Regions from separate parts of the Homo sapiens genome. Here all the other regions are linked to region 1. The links are contacts of gene promoters, found by promoter capture Hi-C in blood cells and fetal thymus (Javierre and others, 2016). All regions are on one chromosome and are shown on one strand. The core of a region is centred on a gene start or on the middle of the fragment in contact, and the rest is flanking DNA. Distances in the headings are between cores, read along the strand shown.

Region 1 (3,213 bases), core at 197-2,696:
GAGGATACCAAACTTCGTAACCAGGGCAATTCTCTACCACACAGTTTACTGGTTAGCCAACACCATGCAGGTGCACTCTGCCTGGCATGACCCTTACTACATTTACCTAATAGGTACAGACAGTATAACCAATCCCCTCAACGCAATAGAAATTGTAGCAGAGGGCAATCAGGTGATCATTAAGTGTAGAACTCTCCGACAGCAGGGAACACAACAGCGAATTTGTTGTCAGTCCCTGTCACCCCACCCAACTAAATATTGTGGGGGGGGGAAGGGTTGCCTTAAATTGTGAAGTAAAATGTCAGCCCACTCCAATAACTCCACCACGCAACATGCAAACTGCTTCCAAAAACCATCATCCAACTCCCACCCGGATTAATATTTGGAGAGAAAGGTGGCATCAGTATCCGCACAGCTGAGAGGGGAGGGAAGGAAAGAGTCAGAATTCATAAGGGGCCGCTGAGTCACCTAAAATTGTGGCCAAGACTTTACCCTCCAGGAAATCGAGCTCTGCCCCAACTCTCATCAAGGAAGCAAGTGAGAGTAGCAGCAGCAACATCATCCTACCAAAAAAACACCAGCGCAGCTTTTAATAGAGTTCCACTCCTTAAAGTGAAGCCAAAAATAGGTTTCATGTCCAAAGCTTTCCTCCGCAGTAGGCGACACGCGCAGATGGAGAAAATATCTTTATTGTTGGGAAAGGGAGGCGTGCTAACGGGGACGAAGGATACCTCACCACTTGGCAAAGTTACTGGCTCCTGCCTTGACCCTGAAATGCCACTTTTATTGCAACATGTGGCCCAAGAAACTCTAAGGAAATGTGGCTGGCAGACGCTGTAGAGCTTTTACCCCAATGTACTTGGCAAAGTAAAAGGGGATACATAAACCAGGCGCGTTCTGTGTAATCTAAGCAAGAATCAAGGTCTCCGTTCGGTAGGCGCTTCGGTGACACAATAATCACGTGTTCGTGGGCGTAGACTTTCGAAAACACTCGATTCTGGGACGTGCAGATACCGGTACCCACCGGCGAGCGCAGGAACGAGTGGGCACTCCCACCCCCGGGAGCTGGCTCCGTTCCCGCAGGAGGTTGGTCACGCCCCCTGACTCCTGGTCGCTGCGACAGCCAAGGGCGAGGCCGCAGCAGGCGGGCTGCAGGCGGCGGAAGCTCGTCCGCGCTCCTCCCCCGGTGGGGCGCTCTCCGCTCGCCTCGCGCGGCCCCGACCCCAAGACCCAGGCCCCGGAAGGCGAGCGTTCACTTACCTGCTCCCCTCTCTCGCTCTCCGCTGCCGCCGCTGCGCCGCTCACCCACGCTGCCCGGTGAGCCACCCCCAGCACACAGACCCCTACGCGTACACCCGAGGCACGGCCCCAGGCCCTTGAGGGGAGACCGCGGCCCAGCCACACAGGTTGGGGTAGCCCACGCACCACCCGGCTTCGAACACCTCTGCCCCCGGAAGTTGATTTCCGCCAAGGCCCGCCCAACACAGCGCCCGTCACTCAACGTAAACACGCGCGTCACGTGGCCCCAGGCCGAGGCCCGGGTCGGGGCCCCATGTTCAGAGCCCTGCCACCCCAGCTTGAGCGTGGTCTTTGGAGCGTTGCCCTGTGAAAAGGGGTGACTTTGCCATGCTCCTTCCCAGTCTACCTCCTGTTAGTTACAGTTTCTCATTCCTCTTGAGTAGCAGGCCCTGTTTCTCCACCTAATCCCTGCAAGTAAACCGTCCCCCAAATCAAAATGAGTTCCATCTGGAACTTTGTAGGATTGGTCCTAAGAAGATCCCGCCGAATCTCTTCACCACTTCCTAGCAGAGCACAGTAAAACCGGGGACTAAGCAAAGTGGCTGACATGTAGTAAGTGCTCAAGAAATGGATGTTGACTAGATGCTACCTCTCATCTTTGCCTGTCTGAACTCTCAAGCACCGGATGCAAGTAGACTGAGAGCCTCCGCCAACCAGTAAGATGACTTTGGTCAAAGAATTCTGCTCTAGAGTTACTTTTGTTCTTGTCTTCAACTCCAGATCACAGCAATTCATACGTGCCATCTCTGTTGCAGAGTTTTCTTGCAAAGCCTTTCTTAAAAGCTTTCTGTCAAATAGCTTGTCCTGAAGCAATAGGAAAAGAATAGCGTAATTCACAGATTATTTATTTGAAAGGAAGGAATGATTATATAGATGTCTTTGTCCATTTCAGACTGTCAATAGCGATGAGAGAAACAGTCAACTAGCAGTCCACTCGTGAATGTTTCTTCTGTTTTTGCCATGGAAGGATTTTGAAGAACATTCATTCAACAAATTTTTATTGATTGTATACCACATACCTAGTCCTGGGCCAAGTTTTGACAATTCAAGAGTGAGCAAGGTAACACTCAAGATATTTGTCTTCAAGAAGCTTACAGTCTAGTGAGAAAGAAAGACACTAACCTGGGGACTTTGAGCATAAATCTCTGGAATATTCACATTCCTTGTATAACAAGTATTCTTTCATCCTTGGACACTGGGTTTCTCATCTGTTGAACAAAATTGGCTTAAACCTGTAATCTCTGTTCTGTACTGGAAGTGGAAAATATTAGCAAGGCATCCTGACAAGTCTGCCATAAGTGCTGGCCTAAGTAGTTAATGAGCAGTTTCAGTATTGAGCAAGTCACCTTGACTACATTCTTTTTCCAGCCCACCCCCTTCTTTATGCATACAAAAAACATTTCTATTGTAAGAAATGTAATGCTTTCTTACACATATTTTTTTATCTGTCTACTAGACTACCAAGTCAAGGACCACTTCTCACTTGTATATCCAGCAATCTACTCACTTCTCATTTGTCTTTGTGTATCCAGCAGTCTAGCAAAGTGTCTAGTAGTTAGAAAAAAGGTATTCATAAATATTTCTTAAACTTAGTAAGGTTACCTTTATATTATTTTGTCTCTCATATCTCTTTCTGCTGGAAACCAGATTAGTTTCTGGGAGTTCCTTCCCATTGATGTACTTACATGTTCACTCTGTCCCGATATTCAATACTAAACTGTATTCCATACTAAACAGATTTATAATAAGTAACTAATATTTATTATTAATATTTGCTATGTGCCTGGCATTAGATTAAATATTTTAAATCCCATATATAACTTACCACAATAATTTTACAAAGTAGGTATATTAATATATTTACACTTTAGATGAGGTTACAGATTTAGGAAGTGTAAATTGACCAAGTGGATT
Region 2 (3,213 bases), core at 508-3,007, 1.3 Mb after region 1:
TGTGACAGTTCAAGAAGGAACTAACCTAATCTAAACCAGTTATTTCTAACCTACAGGCTAAGGAGTCAGTAGAAGAGTTGCCTGAATGCACATACTCCAAGCACTGTCTGTAGTCTAAAACATTTCTGCTCCATTTCTCAAATATAAATAGATACTGTAAAAATAAAATACAAAATCATTTAAAAGCATAGTAGTTTTCTGTCATTATACATAATTTCAACCAACAATTACTAAAAGTCCAATTGCATGTGTATTAGAAGTACAGGGTTTCTCATAATCAAAATAGGTCGGGACCTTTAAGCTAATGTACAGAGTTCCTTCTGGCCCAAAATTCTATGATTTTAAAGGATGAAGAACTCTTACGGTGAATTCCTTAGAACTATTCCATTTCAATAAACATACATATGTATATATAAATAATGCTTGCTATGTGCCAAGTACTGGACTTTTTCTCAGAGATGAGTAAGACATGATTCCAGACAGACCCAGGTTCAAATTGGCAGGAGAGACAGAAACAAATAATACAACCTAATAAATACTGCAGAAGAAAAGTTTCAAATGCGTTGGGAGCACAGCGGTATCAATGTCACCTGGGGGAGTCTGAGAAGACAATGATTTATGAATTGGGTTTTGACAGGTGGTAAAATAGAGGAACAGTAAACATCCTAGACATCCGCACGTACAAAAGTACAGAGCTGTCAAAGCGCATGGCATGTTTGGGGAAATAGCCAGTATAGTCTTGTATGGTAGGATATTAAAGCAGGACTAAAAGGTAAAATGGATTGGGGCAGACTGTAAAAGATCCTGAATGATGATGTGCTTAACAATTAGGATTTGATGCTGTCAGCAATACGGTTACTAAAAAGTTTAAGGAAAGGACAGAGATAAATATGTATTTCAGAATAACTCTATGGAAGGATTATAGTAGGGAAACCAGTGGAGGGCGGGGGGCAGAGGGGGCAACCGCACTAATTCTGGCGAAAAAAAAAATAATACAGTGCAGTGTTAAGTGGAAATGAAGAACCAATGATGATTCCTGGTTTTCTAGTTCGGATAGCAGGACAGATACTGGAACCATTATCAGAGATGGGATAGAGAAGAAAGGCAGGAAGAGAACCAGAAAAGAGTAATACCCCTTGGAGAGCAGTTTCAAGAAACAAGTTATCTTCATTAAACGCTGCAAACAGGTGACTGAAAGGGTCCCCCGTCCGGTGGTGAACTCGCAGGTGGGTAAGGCAGGATGAAAGCAGATACGGAAGGTGTGTCCACAGGGTTAGAGCCAAGGCTTTTCATTGAACTTTCCGCACCGCATCTCCATTAAGAGGAGCTCGGAGTCGGGGGGCGCGGAGAGGAAGTCCGGCTCCCAGGAGCAGGGAGCCCGCGGCGGGAAGCGGACAGGGCCGGGCGCCGGTGGTTCAAGAGGCGCAAGGCACCGGCCCCGGCGAAGGACTGCCCCGGCAAAGGACGCCTCCGACTCGCCCACCCCTGCTCCCGTCCCTGGATTTAGTCCACTTACTCTGCTCTTAGTCCCTCGCAGCCTTCAGCTGTGGCGATGCGGACTCAAACCCTCTACCAACCGGGACCTATGCACTCAAGGGAAGAGACTCCGCGCCCCCCTAATCCGCCTCCTCAGCAAGCAGACGCAGAATCGGACGGAGGCAGCGGACGGAAGGCCGGGAAGCCAGTGGCGTTCAACGCCATCACCGGCGGGGTAGACACCTCCGCCGACCGCCTCCGACCGGCGCTCCCGGAGAACTCCAGCCTCGCGAGATTTCTTTCCTCGCGTTACTGTGGGGCAGAACCGACCACTCTCCGCTTTGCCCCAGAAGGCAGGGCGGGGCCCTTCTATGTCCCTCCCTATTCCTCCCTTCCCAGGCTTTCGCTCGGCCTCTCGCAAAGTCTCGCGAGTTTTTCCAGGGGAAACCGGCCTGGGTGGAGAGACAGAGAAGGGGAGACCGGGTGGGTGGGTCGTACGCTTAGGGGGCCGTGGTTGGTACTTCGCTGTTGGGGAGGCTTTCAGGTCGCCCAGATCCTGCTTCCCAATGGGTGACTGGGAAAATTAGCGGGTGGAAAATCTCGAGGGGTGGAGGCTTTTTTTTTCCTCCTTGGCCCCGCCCTCTTCCTGTTCGGCGACTGGGACGCCTGGCCCTACGAGGGGGAAGGGAGGCTTGGCCGGGCTATCGGAGAGCGCTGTGCGCACGCGCGAGCCCGAGTGCGTGTGTGTGTGTGCACGCGCACGCGCGCTCCTGCTCTTAGGAAGCCTGGGAAGGACCGGTGTGCTAGGAGATGATCGGGGAAAGCATAGTCCCCTGTCTGTGGCACCAGACACTCCCGACTGTGCGCTGACTCTCCCCGCCCAGCCAGCAGCCTTTTCCAGAGAGGCTGTGGTCCATAGCCTCTGTTCGTTTTCACTGCAGGACCAGGCACGAAAGTAAGCGAACCTCGATCCTGAGGTCTTCCCTATCCACTCACCTTGTATTTTCCACCCCCCACCCTCCAGCAAAGTGGGTCTAGAAGGTTTCTCAAAGAGAGTTTTGCATGAAGGGGAGATGCGTCTTGAAAGCAAGAGGTGAAAATAGCTGGATCGTAAGAAATCAGTTCGTTTTGATTTAACACTTTGGCTTTGCTTGCCATGTGCTTTTCGAATGTGGATTGTCTATTCAGTATAAGATTTTGTTAGCGAAGCAGGGGAGTACCGTATGCTCTGTTTTAATAAGAAAAAGTTTTAAAAGTTTTAAATTTCCTTCTACACACCAGTGTGATGGTAACAACTAAGTTTTTCTGCTCTACCTGGTAAATTACTGTGATGTTTCAAAAGCTAAGGGGAGAGTGTGAAGTTGGGGTCCTTATCCTAAGGCGAAGACCTGATGTGCGGTTATCTTAGGAGATGTTTATCTTTGTTTTGGCCTTTTCTTTTGCTGTCACTCCTCTTTCCTGTTAATTCCGCACCCCTACCCGCCAGTCCCCCTTCAAACGTTTTTCTTGGAGGGAAGTGCAAAAATGCTGGCTTGGGGTTTATATGTGACTAATGTCAATTAGCAAGGATCATAAAGTTGTATTTCAAGAGTCTTTGTCACTTATGTTTCGTATATGTAAGGGAATCAAATACAATTAAATGTCAAAATGTTTCCCTCTGACAATTTTAAGTTCATTTTAAAAGCAAAACCAAAAATGCATGCACTGGTATTTTTGTCTGGGCCTGGTAGAGTGACA
Region 3 (3,213 bases), core at 501-3,000, 1.2 Mb before region 1:
TGGAATAAAATAATCTCAGAATAAAGGACACATTTTAAAATGGAATAAATTTAGCTTTAAAAGTTCTTTTCTACGTTGTCCATGACTAGAAAATTTTGTCACAGAATAGCAATGACTTCTGGCAAGCATTGATGATCTGAGGTATTTCCAAACACATTTTTGAAAATGGCTTACCACACTGAGTAGAGAGGCAAATAGAGTGGGAATGGAGCAATGAAATTGGGTATCTGGTAGGATTTAAAGGATTTGAGAACACCAGTGAAAATGAAGAGCAGATTTATCTTAGGAAAGAGCTTGAAGGGTAGTTCCTACTTGGGGAGGTAAATGTGTTTTGGATTTTAGAGGTGGAACAGTTTTAAGGGTTGACCTTGCTCATGGGTGGCTTTCCATAGAATTAAGATGGAGGTCACAGGAGGAGAAGCGCTGTTAAGCTTACATGGTAAAAAGGTTTTATTGTGAATGAATGCTATAGGATAAATGCCATCAGAGCATGAATTCCAAAGGATGATAATGGAGTGGGGGAGAAGCATATTGAATGATCTGGGTGCTGAAGTCATTAAGCAAATTATGAATATATTCAGATGTTAGTGGAATATAGCAACAAGTACGGAAGTGAGAATCAGTGTGTACTGTGGTTTGGAGCATAGTTTCAAGTTCTACCACCTGCTATGTAGCCTGGGAAAATTATTTGACAGTTCTGTGCCTCATTTCCTCATCAAAAAGTAGGATTAAAAATAGTACCTGCTGCTTCATAGAGTCATTTACAAGATTAAATGAATTAATGTTTAAAGAGCTTCAAATAATACATAGCACAAAACATGAGAGATGGTTGAGAAATATGGTAAAACATGATACTTCTGTAACCTGTGAGTCTCAGAAATGACTAAGGATTGGAATGGAACTGCTGCCAATAGAAAGTCAGGTTTTATAAAGAGAGCAGACAGCAATTTCTTTTAGAAAAGCTAGAAGTTATTGGATACCTTGTTTATGCCAGACAGTGACTTTTACAGTAGGTTGGCAAGTATGCAAAATGGAATGAATTTCTTGGAGGTAGGTTAGTGCTGAGCTTTCAGGAATGGGACTGGTGGAGTAGCTGAGGGGCGAGGTGCTCCATTCTAGAGTGATATCCCCTGGAAAACAGGGATGGAGGAAGCTAGAGATGGGTAGGGAGCCACATGATATATTCCAGCTAGACTTTCAAGGGAGGAGTGTTGAATAGGTTGTATGTATTATTAGGAGATTTGTAAAACTAACTGCTTGCCGTATCTTTATGCTTATATATAAATTAAAAGAGCATTTAGAAAGCTCATTATACAAATATAACATTTATATAAACTTTTAGAAATGTAATTCACTGTTTTATTCATTTGTTTAACAGTGCTATACTGACTATGTGATGGCCACTGTTCTAGGTCCTGGGACAGTAGACAACAGGAAAATCCTTCTTGTGGATCTTATTTTTATATATTTACTTACCTAAGTATGACATACTGCTGTGATTTGAAAGATGTGCTACTGTGGTGTTTCTGGGAAAATTTCCTTCCTTCCTTTTCTCAATAAATATTGAATACCTGTTCGCTAGGCATTGGAGATACAAAGATCAAGTTAGACATGGTTCCTGCTCTAACAATCCGGTGGAGGAAACAGAAAAAGAGGCAATTAGAAATAGTGTGATAAAGGTACAACGTTCTAGAAGCAGATAGACTTTGAAGGCCATGGAAAGTTTTTTTGTTCCCCCTGCTTGCTCAAGGTAGAGATGAGTAGACTGGACCTTGAAGAGTAAGTAGGAGTTAGTCAAATGTAGAGATGCGGTAGGGGGAAGAAAAAATATTTCTGGCAAAGAGAATAGGATATTTAAGGAATTGAAAGTGATTTAATATGGTTGGAACGTAGACTGTGAGTGATTGGGTTTGAAGAGAGGTTAGCAGGACCTGGTTTTTGAAGGGCTTTGTAAAACATGTTAGGATAGAATCCAAGCTCTTAAGTGTAGTGGGAAGGGAAGTTTTACAAAGATTTGAAGAGAAATATCAGATTTATGTATTAAAAAGATAATTTATTATTACAGTATAGAGAGAGAATTGGAAGGTTGAAGATTAGAGGTTGTTGAAGCAATGTAGTGATAGATTGTGGCAGTTGGGACTAGGAACATACTTGGACATAAGGAATTTCTCAGTAGGCCTGAAGAAGAGAAGACAGGCAGATTTAAGAGAAATTTAGAAATAGCTTAAGTCTAAAGATATAACCCATGTTTCTGGCTTGTGTAGTTGGGCTTATGGTGTTATCATTAAGATAGATACAGGAGGAACAATTTTTACAGGGTGAAGTATTCATTTTTGGACTTGTTGAGTCTGAATTGTGTTTGGAATGTCCAAATGAAAAGGTAACAGAAGGCAAGGGGTTATACATATCTGCAGAGAGATCTGGGCAGAGAATCAAGATTTGGGATAAATCAACATGCAGATTGAAATGGAAGGAGTGGGCGATCATTTGGGGAAGGTGTGGAGGTTAAGGGGGAGACCTAGTGCAGAATCTTGAGAGAAAGATGAATTTGCACAGTAAGCCAAAGAGGGTTTTCCAGGTAGAATGAAAATTGGGGATGTGATATCACTTAAGTCAAGGTAAGAGAATGTTTCGAGAAGAAAAAGAAGTGATAAGCAGTGTGTTTTCTCAGAGGTGCAGTTAGATAAGGACTGAGGAGTGTCTGTCAGTACTAAGGAAGTTAATTACCTTGCTCAGAGCAAATTTAGTTAAGAGGTGAGAGTTGGGTGAGGAAGTAGTCACAGTAGATGAATGGGGACAACTCATTCTTTTAAGTTGGCTGTAGGTGTGCTGCGAGAGATGTATTGTTGGAGTTGGACTTGAGTTTAAGGGAGAGTTCTGTTTTAAAGAGAAGAGACATACAGATATTTAATATTTTACTCAAATCAGAAAGAGTAGAAATTGAAAGATTGAAAAAGGGTCAGTTTTTGTGCAGTTACTACTAAAAAGGTACAGAAAATAAATTTGATTATCAGAGCTAAACAAGTTTAGCGGGCATGGCATATACATAACAAACATTCAGAAGCTTAATTTATCGATGGGAATACCAGTTTTATAACTGACGTGGGGGTCAGAAAACTGTCATCTGTTTTGTCTATGACATCTATTTTTTTCTTTCGAATACTAAGTGCATGGGAAAAAAATCATAATTCGAAGGCTGCTTTGTGAGTGTGG
Region 4 (3,213 bases), core at 251-2,750, 1.2 Mb after region 1:
TCTTCTGCTAGCTCTTTTATGGTTTTATTACTTTGGGATTTTGTTTTCACAATTAGTGTGAGATAGAGTTCTGCTTCTCTCTGCCCATAGTGCAGCTAATCAGTTAAGAACACAATTTATTGAATAATCCATCCACTGATTCAGATGCTACCCTTATCATAATTGTCCCTTTCATCTTCCTTGGATTTCATCTACTGAGGGTTATAGGAATAGGGGCATGTGGGAGAGTGAATAAGCACTACAGAAATAGATAGTGCTACCAAAGGTGTGAAAATTTGGACCAGGCAGTGGGAAAGCAGAGAAAGAATTGTGCCTATGACAAAGATTATTTGCTTGGCCAAACTCTAGTACGGCTTCTGAATCTTCTGCTAGGTCCATCTGTGCACTTCTTTGTAAAAATCCAGTTTTAGCAAAGAACCCCCTTTCCTCCATATCTAATCAGTTTTCTCACCCTGCACCATCCCCCAGGTGATGTTATGTCTTCAGAAGTCCTGTTAGGTCAGTTTCACCAAATGCCCCTTACCTCTGATGCTTCCTCTTAGTAATTTTCCATCCACTGAACTCCATACTGCTGGTTGGCTATAAATTCCCTCTTGCCCACGCTGTATTCGGAGTTGAGCCCAGTCCCTCTTCCCCACTGCAAGACCCAGTTGCAGTGGTCCCTATGCCAATTGAGACAGTCCTCAATAGTCTTCGTTCGGTGCTTTAACAAGTATCATTGAATAATTTTGTCTTTAACACTTCTTCACATTATGGTCACAGCTATATATTGTTAGCTTAGTAGTGGACTAACTGAACATGTAATTTCCAAGCTATAAGTTGCTCATCAAAATATATAAGTGAAAAAAATTAAAACCAGGGAAGGAAAGCAAGACAATCCTCCCCAAATAACGTTAAGTCTATGCGTCTAATTCCACATCATCGATGAGCCATCTGTCACATGGACTACTGTCCCTCAAACAGCACTCAGGTATGAGACTTGAGACGAAGTTCAGACCAAGGCCGTGTCTTCGAGGATATTTCGCTTAGAGAAAACGAAACTACTTTTAAATGTAGTGCTTATGACTAGTGCGGTAACCACTACACAAACAGCATTCTCCTGGCATTTTTATGCTAACATAAGCCTCAGCAGCGAAGACAATTGCTACCGGGGGAAATAACCTTCAATTGTGTTTTTAGCAACTGATTCCTCTTTTTTGCTGTTGTAAAGGGCCGTTAAACACGGAAACAGGAGCCTGGCGACGTTAGTCCGCAACAGAAAGTTATTTTGTACTTTCACAGTGGGTTTGCCTACTTGGTGAGATAAAAGTGGGGCAAGACCGGGCCTCAAGCCAGGACTTCCTGGGGGCTCCCGGGAGCACCGCAGGCTGCGCGTTCCCCGCGCGCCGGCAGGAGGCGCGCGCTGCCTGGAAACGCCCCAGCGCCGCCCGCGCCCAGAGACCCGCCGCTGTGACGCAGCGAGAGCCCGGGAGGAGGCGCGGGAACGCGCGTTGGGGGTCAGGTGCCGGAAGAGGAAACCTCTCGCTGGGGCTAGGAGTTCGGCGGGGCGCGCGCCGGCGGCTGCGGAGCTGGCAGGTGCGAAGCGTCTGCACCTGGCGGGCGATGGCGCCCGATGCGGGCGCCCCGGGATAGCGTGGGCGAGGCTGCGGGGCCCCGGCGCGCACGCCCGCACCTCTCCCCAGCCCTGGCGTGGGCCCAGCCCGGCCCAGGCAGCAATGGGGTTCCTGCAGCTGCTGGTCGTAGCGGTGCTGGCATCCGAACACCGGGTGGCTGGTGCAGCCGAGGTCTTCGGGAATTCCAGCGAGGGTAAGGTCGGGGCGCCTGGCTTCTGCAACCCAAAGTTGCTTTTGCATTTCTTGCGAGGTCAAAATCCGCCAGGGGTCTGTCAGCCTAGCAGGGAGATGGTGCTGGGGGCGTTGGTACACGCTGGGTGGTGAGTCCAGAACCGGCACGAATGGTGTTTCCTGCAGCGGAAACACTCATGGCTAAGGAGGTCTTACTATTAACCTCCTCATTTAGCGGAGGAAATGGGAAGAGATAAATAATTCTCTTTTTTTAACACAGTATTATCTCCCTTAGGGAGCAGCCATGTTTGTGGCTTTAATTCAACTTACTAAAGCGCCTCTTTGCTGCCCAGTGGACTGTCTGAGCTTCTGGACAGCAAGACTTGGGGTGGAACTAGCGGCTTAATGACTGATGGCTCTCAAGCTGCATGGAATTTTTACACCCCCAAATCTAGAGGCTTTTCAAACTGGTTATGTTCTACAGAGTTTGAGAGGGAAAATGAACCCATAATGAGGCTTTATTTTTAAAGAGCCTTTACCATCTAATTTATTAATACCATCTGGAGACAGGAAAACATTCCATACTCACAATGAGAAATAAAGGACTTTCTGAATTACAGATACATAGACATACAGATAGAATGTGTATACCCTCAATTCTACAAGTTCAGCCACAAATGAAAAATAAACACAGAAACACAAAAGCTTGCCAGTCCAGGTATCAGAGTTGTTCTCCTTACTTGAGGGCAAGAAATTTCTAATCGATTTGACCTTAAAAAAGACAAATGGACAAAAACTGTGTTCTCTGTTGTCTCATATCCAACAGGAAATAGATCTCTATGAGATATTAATTCGTTTACAGAGATCACAAAATTCCCAATCATTGCAGCTACCAACAGGAAATAACTTGTCATCCATAAATGAACTGTAAAAAATAACAATTTAATAGAGAGTAAAACTAAAATGAGAAAAACAAGAATCAACGAAGTTCTATTGCCACTTCAAATTCACCTGTGGGAGCCAAGAAGCAACATGCCCGGGCTTGGCTCCCTATGAGTACACCATTTTTGATGATTTCAGGTGACTTTTTTTTTTTTTTTTTTTGACGGAGTCTCGCTCTGTCGCCTAGGCTGGAGTGCAGTGGCATGATCTTGGCTGACTGCAACCTCCGACACCCGGGTTCAAGCAATTCTCCTGCCTCAGCCTCCAGAGTAGCTGGGATTACAGGCGCCCGCCACCACACCCAGCTAGTTTTTGTATTTTTAGTACAGGCGGGGTTTCACCATGTTGTTCAGGCTGGTCTCGAACTCCTGACCTCGTGATCTGCCCGCCTTGGCCTCCCAGAGTGCTGGGATTACAGGCATGAGCCACCGCGCCCGGCCGATTTCAGGTAATTCTTGTTCATCTCAGTGAGAACTCAGAATGGGAT

Evidence for each region. The method cuts DNA at HindIII sites, captures the fragments that hold promoters and counts their contacts. A CHiCAGO score of 5 or more calls a contact.
Region 2: the fragment with the promoter of FGFR1OP2 here is called in contact with the fragment with the promoter of CCDC91 in region 1 in 1 of 17 cell types (non-activated CD4 T cells); the score reaches 5.4 in non-activated CD4 T cells.
Region 3: a fragment that was not itself captured here is called in contact with the fragment with the promoter of CCDC91 in region 1 in 2 of 17 cell types (naive B cells and non-activated CD4 T cells); the score reaches 8.3 in naive B cells.
Region 4: a contact is called between the fragment with the promoter of TM7SF3 here and the fragment with the promoter of CCDC91 in region 1, in 1 of 17 cell types (naive CD4 T cells). The highest score is 5.3, in naive CD4 T cells.

Annotation. Positions count from the first base shown.
Region 1 is chr12:28,188,689-28,191,901 of GRCh38, reverse strand. CCDC91 (coiled-coil domain containing 91) reads right to left here and starts at 1,446. Exons shown (of 13, transcript NM_018318.5): 1 at 1,261-1,446. LOC729291 (a long non-coding RNA gene) reads left to right here and starts at 1,164. Exons shown (of 1, transcript NR_148936.1): 1 at 1,164-3,213. RefSeq lists silencers at 1-286, 970-1,399, 1,430-1,479. The HindIII fragment of the contact is 1,439 bases long and covers 646-2,084 here.
Region 2 is chr12:26,937,014-26,940,226 of GRCh38, reverse strand. FGFR1OP2 (FGFR1 oncogene partner 2) reads right to left here and starts at 1,757. Exons shown (of 7, transcript NM_015633.3): 1 at 1,517-1,757. It overlaps INTS13 (integrator complex subunit 13), which reads left to right and starts at 2,246. Exons shown (of 17, transcript NM_018164.3): 1 at 2,246-2,431. RefSeq lists a silencer at 1,324-1,393 and enhancers at 923-1,431, 1,654-1,703, 1,432-1,941. The HindIII fragment of the contact is 20,390 bases long and covers 1-3,213 here.
Region 3 is chr12:29,373,712-29,376,924 of GRCh38, reverse strand. All of the region lies in intron 1 of ERGIC2 (ERGIC and golgi 2), which reads left to right. Among named protein-coding and RNA genes, the nearest start is that of ERGIC2, 5.9 kb to the left of the region's middle. The HindIII fragment of the contact is 2,633 bases long and covers 434-3,066 here.
Region 4 is chr12:27,012,671-27,015,883 of GRCh38, reverse strand. TM7SF3 (transmembrane 7 superfamily member 3) reads left to right here and starts at 1,500. Exons shown (of 12, transcript NM_016551.3): 1 at 1,500-1,806. The coding sequence starts at 1,716. RefSeq lists a silencer at 1,308-1,807. The HindIII fragment of the contact is 5,016 bases long and covers 1-2,491 here.